Regions from separate parts of the Homo sapiens genome. Here region 2 is linked to region 1. Evidence: promoter capture Hi-C in 16 types of primary human blood cells and fetal thymus (Javierre and others, 2016). All regions are on one chromosome and are shown on one strand. Each heading gives the region's core, a stretch centred on a gene start or on the middle of the fragment in contact. The rest is flanking DNA. Distances are from core to core; before and after follow the strand shown.

Region 1 (4,175 bases), core at 1,183-3,682:
TATCCTTTTATATATACTTAATTTTTAAAGCCATTTACTTAAGATTCTGCCTTTATTAGCTTTGTATGCCATTAATAGCTTTGTATGTCCTCAAGTTTGCATTTCAGCTAGGAAGGCAGGCCTCCCTAAAACTTTCACGTGCTAACAGCTGTAATTAAGGTAGAAGGCTTTATTTAAATAGTAATTAGCTTCCAGAAGTTGAAGTGTAAACAGAATGCTAATTCATTTAGATAGTTAATTGGTCTTCCGGGTTAGAGATCTTAGCGTGGCCTTCCTCTTTAGCTATGCTGTATTTATGTACCAAGTATAGATAGTGTGTTGGCTCCGTGGGATGTTTTGCAAACTCTTGCTTGACTCGCAGAATTTTAGTGTTTTAGCTCTTCTGGTAAAGACTACTGCCAATGAATCTGAAGACGTGAAAACATCAAGTAAAATTCCACGGCAAAATCATTAATATTTGACCTTTCTTTTATAATTGTGGGGACCGTATGGCCCAGTTTATTCATGTTATTCCAATGTAATTCTTGATAGTTGCTTCTTTCATGCTCAAGAATATTTTGATTTGGAGGTAAGTTATGTGGTCACCCTAATCATAATCAGAAATCACACAACAGGCAGTGATTGCTGAAACAAAAGGTGTGCATCAGGTTGGTTACCCTTTCCAGTGAACCAGTGTCAAGGTCCTTCTCTCTGCTGACTGCTGTAAAGATGGTTAATGCTGGATGTCATTAAGTTTAAAGGTCTTTTTTTTTTTTTAAGGACAACTACTATATCAGGAATTTTGTCATTGCCTTTGCCAACTTGTGTGGTCTGCCAGTCACTTTCGCTAGATGAAGAAAAAGAATCACTATATTTGATAGTTGTGTGTCTCTGTGTTGCCCAGTCCTCTAGGGGAGTTGAATGGGAGGTGGGTCTGATGTTTTGCTTTTTAAAAATGTTTCTTTTGCTTGGATGCTCCAGCTCATCAGATGCTAGGCTGGCTGCTAGCTATTTTTCCACATGTGCGTCCAAACAGACCTGTGTAAGTAGCACATATCACACGAATTCAACAAATACTGAATGAATACAGTGGCTGGCACATAGGAAGCATTCCCGGATATTTACTGAATGAATAAATACCAACCTTGCCTTTGGTCCCGTGCTGGGTGCTACAAGTTAGGTGGTAGGAAGAAAGGGAGGAGAGAAAACTCTATATGAGATCAAGTAGGTTCTGCCCTCAAGGGGTTAATAGTCTCCAAGAGGAAGATGTAAATAAATAACCGTAATTGAAAGTAAGAATCATTCAGTGCCAAAAAGAGTGGGAGGAAGAGGTTGCTGGGCGGGGCGGGGCGGGGGTGGGGGGTTGGGGGGGGTGTTGGGGGGTGAGGGGAGGGGTGGTGGCGAGGGTGGCAGGGGTTGGGGGGGCGGTTAGGATGCAGGGAGAACTTGAAGGAGAGGCAGGCATTCAAATTAGATTTTCCCCCAGTTTAGCATTAACTCTGGCCCCAGTTGCAGTCCATGAATGTGGAAGGGCCCTCCCCTGCCAGGCGCTGAAATTGTGCACGAGCTATTTTTTTTTTCTTGGCTAACAGCTTTCCTCTCACGGTTAATGACTAATCCCAAGGAGCATTAGCTCACTCTGTAAATATGAAATTATAATATAGCAAAATATAACGCTAAAAGCCATCAATCTAATTTTAGTCGCAAAGTTGAAATTTCATAGCAATAGCATTAAAAGAGTTACATTGTTACGATTTCAGTCAACATATAAATGAAATAAAATTGTTCTGGCCTGGCGCGGTGGCTCAGGCCTGTAATCCTAGCACTTCGGGAGGCCGAGGCTGGCGGATCACCTGAGTTCAGGATTTCGAGACCAGTCTGGCCAACATGGTGAAACCCTGTCTCTACTAAAAATACAAAAATTAGCCGGGCGTAGTGGCAGACGCCTGTAATCCCAGCTACTCCGGAGGCTGAGGCGGGAGAATCGCTGGAACCTGGGAGGCAGAGGCTGCAGTGAGCTGAGATCGCGCCACTGCACTCCAGCCTGGGCGACAGAGCGAGGCTCCATCTAAAAAAAAAAATTGTTCTACTTTAAGAAACCTAAAATGACGGCTTAATGGCAGAGTAGTATTACGATATAAAGCATTTAAAATGAACAGAACATGCAGATCTTACTTTTTTTTTTCTTTTCTTTTTTTTTTAGTGTATTGTTGCTCACAGCGAGACAGAGTGTTCTGCTACCCACAGGGCCAGGGCCTCACACAAACCAGCGGGCTCTCCAGGGTGCGCGCGCGATCTACAACCCGCCCCTTGAAAAGGAAAGCGGGGCCCGGGACGCTGCGGGTGTGAGCCGGACCGGCTTAGAGAGGGAAAGTAACCCGAGTCCGCCGCTTCGGGCGGACCCGCCCCCTCCCACGAGTTTCCCTAGACCCTCGGCCCCGCCCTCTCTTTTATTCGGTTTGCAGCAACCGGAGCTGAAACTTTGCAACCCGAGCGCGCACGCTCTGCGCTCGGCCCTGCCAGGGCGGCACGGGAGGGCGGCGCAGGAGGTGGGACCTGCGCCGGGAAGGCTCCGGGACGCCAGCGCACGCGGAGCGGGGACCCCGGAGAGCCAGCAGGCGAGAAGACCGGCCGAGGGAGAGCCGATCGCGCCTCGAGAGATCCGAGGAAGTGGTCGCGGGCCGGGAGGCTCCCGTGCCGAGCCGAGGCCAGGGGTCTGGGGTCGCAGCCCGGCGTGCCTGCAGCTGCCGTCGCTCGGGAGCAGCAGCTGTGCCCGGGATCCCGGCGGCGGCGGGGGAAGGAGGAGCTGCAGCTGGACTGTGGCAGCTGGAGGGAGAGGGCCGGGCTCCCCTGGCGGAGCCGCGCTGGGACGACTGGCTGACCGCGGCCATGCAGTCTTGACGGAGTCGCTCGGGCGCAGGGGAGCAGCCGCGGGCGCGCCCTCCCGGGAAGGGGCACCGGAGCGCAGGCAGCAGCACTTTATCTGCGACTCTCCAGCCCAGCGAGAGGCGAAGCGGTTTACCATGGAACCCGTGACCAAGTGGAGCCCCAAACAAGTGGTGGACTGGACTAGAGGTGCGCGGGCCTTGGGGGGGTCCGGAGTCCTCCAGCCTCGGGGATGGGGCGGACGAGGAGCTGGGGAAGAGGGTACTTGGCCCTTCCTCCCGGCGAGAAGCGGTGAGGGCACAGCCCGGTGACAATGCAAACTTCTGCCGAGTGGCCTGTGCGCTCCTATCTCTCGTACCTGCTCCGAGCTCTTCCTTTCCAGGGTGCGGATTGTGGCAAGCCGAGGGGAGCCCTATCTTTAAACCAGGGAGTAGGGGTGGCCTTTCTGTGGCGGTTGAGGGCTGGGGATGCCGATCTCGGGACTCGGCACTCGGGCCGGGGGGCGCTCTCCCTGCCTGGCCCCGGTGCGGTGCCCGGCGACCCGGGGGCCCGAGTGCAGAGGCACAAGGTGCCTTTGTGTGGGTGACTCCCGCGGGACCTCGTCCATGCCGCCTGCCCAGAGCCGTCCGCAGGCGTGACAGGGCTGTCGGACAGGTAGAGGGAGACTCCGGCGGGTCCGCCGAGCCTGTCTGTTTTTGTTGGAGAAGGCGAGAGGGCCGCGCAAAAGCCAACACCATAGCATTTGCGCCAGGGAGAAACCTCGAGCCAGGACTCCCCGGGAGGCAGTGACTTTTGCTCCGGGAGGCGCCAGTATCCCCGGTGGCGCTGCATTTTCAGGCCACATGTAAGCACTGGGAAGGAGAAATATAATTGTTTGGAACCACTGTCTTGATTCATACAATATTTGGGATGAGGAAGGCAGTGGGGCTGGGGCGGTGGGGGGGTGGTGGGGGGAATGAGCAGAGGTAGAAGCTTGTCCTCCTAGCTGGCTCGCTTACTTTTCAATGTCTCCTACGATTTCGAGGGAAAGGTACTAGAGTTTACTCAACCCTTTTCTGTACTTTCAAGAGAACAAAGTCCACCAAGAACAATCTGTATTTTCATGGTTTCCCCCCACCCCCAACGACATCTCTGTTTCAAGTTACTATTTGTTTTTCTATCTGCTCTTCCAGGTGAGGAATGGTGTTCTTTCTCAGTAATAACTAGAATTGTGTAGCGCTTTACAGTTTGCTAAGAGCTCTCTCTGTTATTGTCCTTGGTCATCACAGTAAGCCTGTGAGGTAGGTAATACTGGTAAGACCAGGTCGTCT
Region 2 (4,175 bases), core at 249-2,748, 800 kb before region 1:
CAGGGCAGAAGTTATAGGTCTGTGTATTTTTTAAAATCCTTCAAATACATTTTCTCATGAGCCTTTATCTTCAGGAGTAAGTTTCAAATTCTAGATATTATCCACTCTTTCTATGGGAACCAGAGTTAACGGAGATGAGGGTACTTAGCTGAGGTTAGAAGCTCAGGCAGAAGAGAGCAAGATTGAAATCCAAGCTCATTGATTTGATAGCGCTTCTTTAATATTCATTTGTATTTCAATGTGCCTGAAAAGTTTGAGAGCAGAGACCTGCCTACTGTTGTAGCTCTCCATTTTAAAGAAGGAGAGTATTAAATTTATTCCATAATGTATCATTCCTGTTCCCTCTGAGAGGCATTGGCTTTAGGATTTATACCTATGTTGAAGTCCATGACCTTGTACAAATAAAACAATAGACAAGGAAACTGAAAAGTTAAGAGAAATGAAATTGGGATAGGAGTCCTTGGTTAACATGTAAGGATTAGGTGAGAATGTGTGTAAATCCATCATAATAGATAAGATGGTCAGTGGATGCTAATTCCCTCCCTGTTAAAAGACTAAACCATTTTTGGATGGCTGAGAAACTAGTTTCCGCATTTTAGCTGACAAAGTTATGTTGTTGAAAACAAGCAAAAATAGGACTGTGAACACCTACAAGAAGTGCTGGTATGTTTTTAGTGACTAAATTTCCACTATCCTAGGAAGACCAGTTCCTTGGATTTCCATATCTCAGAATCACTAAGACCAGCCCATTGCATGTTTTTCCAGATGTGATGACTGGTTGCACAGAGTCAGTACTCTACCTTTTTATGATGTCTTAAGGGCTGCTAACTTGAATTTGATTAATTAAAAAATTAATTTTTCTGTATTAACATGCATGTGTGCAAAGCTTTAAAAACCCTCAACTGCTCAATTTAACTTTTTCCTGAAAATGACTAAGAATTCAAATTTCTGAAAATCTTACGATCTAAGAACTTATTGCCATTGCCATAGTGACCACCACCAAGATGTCTCTAGATAAAAATAAGACTTCAGCACTTTTTGCTTTTGGATTTCACTAGCAATACTGAAGATTCTGAATGTGAAACTAGTATTGCTTATTCAGATATTCAATGTTCAATAACTATAGAAAAGTGCTGCATTCTTATCCAGTCTGTTCTTAGGAGTCGGTTGGTTTCAAATCAGTTTGAAAGGAATTTGCATGGGACAGATGGAAACTACAATATTAGCTAAATTTAAGCTAAGAAACTTTGTCATGATAATCCTGTGTGTGTTAAGGGACTGGTACAGTTCAATGGTGATGTGGTAGCATATTCGATTGCCACTTCATGTTAATTTAGGTAGAGAGTTAAATAGTCAAATAAATATTATACATAAAGGATCAATTGATTGGGTAATGGCTGAATTTTTATAGAAGATTTTTCTCTCTAAATTTCATACGTTGAAATTTGCCAAGTTAATTGAGATAACTAAAACTCTTTTTCCTCTAGATAAGATTGTAAGGAAAGCTGGCAATCTGACAAATGCTTATGTTTACGAAGTGGGCCCTGGGCCAGGGGGAATCACAAGATCTATTCTTAATGCCGACGTCGCTGAACTTCTGGTGGTTGAAAAGGACACTCGATTTATTCCTGGATTACAGGTGAGATGCTTAAAGTGTCTGCTTTAGGAGGCAAAAGCTGAATTTAAATCTTTATGCCATGATGCTTAAACCCCAAGGTATCCAAAGATTATGTAGGTTTTTCCTCAACTATAGATCCCCAAGGCCCCATTCCAGAGATTTTGATTCCATAGTCTGGAGAAATCTGGAAATCTCCATTTTTAACAAGCACTCTCAGAGGGTCTATTGACTACACCTTGAAAAAAACCTGCTTTAAGCATTTATGCTAAACAAATTAATTGTTTTGTGTGATTTTTTTTTTTAAGTCTGCTAATAGCTATGCATGTCGTGGCCCATTCCTTCAAAAATAAATAAAAATAAATAATGGCCAGTAATGACTCATTGGTATGACTTTTGAGAACTTCATTTAGGTTCAAAAAGCATTTCCACAAACAAAAGATGAGTAAGACATATGCACGTTTGTCATCATGAGAGACTAATTATGAAGCTTAAGCATTCTTTTATAAGGTAAATTTTTTAAGTGAAGGAAGGAAGTTGTACTTTTATAGATTTAGGATGAGGTTTAAATGAAATGATACATGCATCTTTAAAATACAGGCACTGTTATTGTATAAGAAATGAGAGTTGAAGGAACTGGGCATGTTTCAACTGGAGAAAAGAGGCCCTGGGTAAGAGTGTATATAGCAGCACATCCAAGGTTGGGGGTACATAGGATAAGCTTGTTTTGATCTTTTCTAAGAAAGAGCTAAAACAAATAGATGGAAATTGAGGGAGGCAGGATTGAGGATTTGAAATAAGGAGGAACTTACTTTTTTTAAAACGCTGGCAAACAGTGAAATAGATTGTATCAGGGATCTTGTAAAGGGATTTCCTCATAGGGGAACACTTAATGTCTTAAAGGCCTTTGATTCCTCCATAATTCTAAAATTTTAAAAGAGTCCTGAACCTTTGGCTCAGATGAGAAGCAATTTATCATGTGACTATAATAGAATAATGTAGTTATCTACGTTATTACTTCCATACAAAAGGACAAATTGATTTTAAACGAGTATATTCTCATACTAACTTGTATATATATTAATGGAAAAATGTTAATTTCTGTCAGAACGGTTTGAGAAGTTGTTTTTGAAAACCTAGAACTTTGTGTGCATGTATCTGATTTTTTTAAGAAACCTAGCAGTTTTTCCCTAATCTTGCTTTATCTAGTTTTTATGCTTTAAAAAATTACATAATATTTCCTTTTATCTAGTTTTACCAGTCTATACTAACAGAATTGGTTTCAGATACTAAACTTTATGTTGAGATAGTCACATGGCACATATTCCTTGATCAAATGTGGAATTTAATAGTGATTTTTGTTTTGAACTGTGTTCTTATTTTAAGAATTATATATAAGTTGGAGGTGGACGTGGGAATATTATTATTTTTGGTGAGATCATGAGATTATAAAAAGAAACTAAATAACTGTATAATCCCCTTCGGGCTTATTCGTGTAGCCCTTTTTGGACATAGGGAATACTCACCTGACTTTTTTGCTCTTAAAAAGACTTCTTGTCCCTCATATCTCACCATTCGTTGGGTTTATTCTTTCTTATTAGGCCAGGGGGTGAACCAGATTTCCATTCATTCCCACATATTCCCCTCTTTGATATGAACAAAAGATCTTTGAAGGCAGATTGTTGAAAAGAGCGACTGCCACCCTTCTCTTCTCAGTTTCCCCCAAACCCATAAGTCACTGCGTTCCTAATTCCAGCCTTGTTTTATCTCATTCGATTTATCATCATCTGACATACTGTATATATGTTCTTCCCATTTGTTTGTTAATTGACTCACCTGTCTGGAATGTAAGTACCATGAGGGTAGAAATGTGTGTCTGTTTTGTTCCCTGCTGTACCTCTATCTCACGTAACAGTGCCTAGCACATAGCAGGTGTTCAGTAAATGTCTCACATGAGAAACAAAAAAGTTGACCACTATTTCTGCATCTGTGTATATATATACACAAATGTATATGTATCTCTCATATTAATTAAATGTATCATTAAATAGTGAAAGTAAATATTTGTGTAGCATTGATAATGAAAAAGTTTTATGCTCTTTTTTCTAAATGTGAAGGCTGATTTCAAGTTAAATTACTCTAGAGGAAATGTATATTTGACTTCTCATTTGTTTTTAGTAGAAACAAAATTAATTCTTAGTATCTTATATGCAGGAAAGGAATTTGCCTTAAAAAGAAATGTTGGGTACTAAAATATCAAATAGGCCTTTTTTTCCCCAGTGAGGAATGTTTCAATATGTAAAACTACTTTGTTTTAGAGGTACTAAATTAATCATAAAACTGAGTAAAAGCAGAAAGAAGGTGATCTATTTTAAGGATACCATTTTAGTGATTTCTAAGCTAATAGAATTACTTTTTAAAGAAATTGTAATAATTTATAAAATACCTTCTAGCTGAAAGCCTGTCATTTGTAGCTTAATTCAATTCCTACAGTATTTTCATGAGGCAGTTTAGGGGAAAGAAAAACTGGTGCTAACATACAGGATTCATGCTCAGCATG

The links. The method cuts DNA at HindIII sites, captures the fragments that hold promoters and counts their contacts. A CHiCAGO score of 5 or more calls a contact.
Region 2: a fragment that was not itself captured here is called in contact with the fragment with the promoter of CNKSR3 in region 1 in 1 of 17 cell types (erythroblasts); the score reaches 6.4 in erythroblasts.

The regions. Positions count from the first base shown.
Region 1 is chr6:154,508,942-154,513,116 of GRCh38, reverse strand. CNKSR3 (CNKSR family member 3) reads left to right here and starts at 2,432. Exons shown (of 13, transcript NM_173515.4): 1 at 2,432-3,054. The coding sequence starts at 3,003. LOC101928868 (a long non-coding RNA gene) reads right to left here and starts at 2,326. Exons shown (of 2, transcript XR_001744422.2): 1 at 2,155-2,326. The HindIII fragment of the contact is 4,325 bases long and covers 1-3,839 here.
Region 2 is chr6:155,308,652-155,312,826 of GRCh38, reverse strand. It overlaps TFB1M (transcription factor B1, mitochondrial), which reads left to right. Exons shown (of 7, transcript NM_016020.4): 2 at 1,488-1,639. Among named protein-coding and RNA genes, the nearest start is that of TFB1M, 3.7 kb to the left of the region's middle. The HindIII fragment of the contact is 1,219 bases long and covers 889-2,107 here.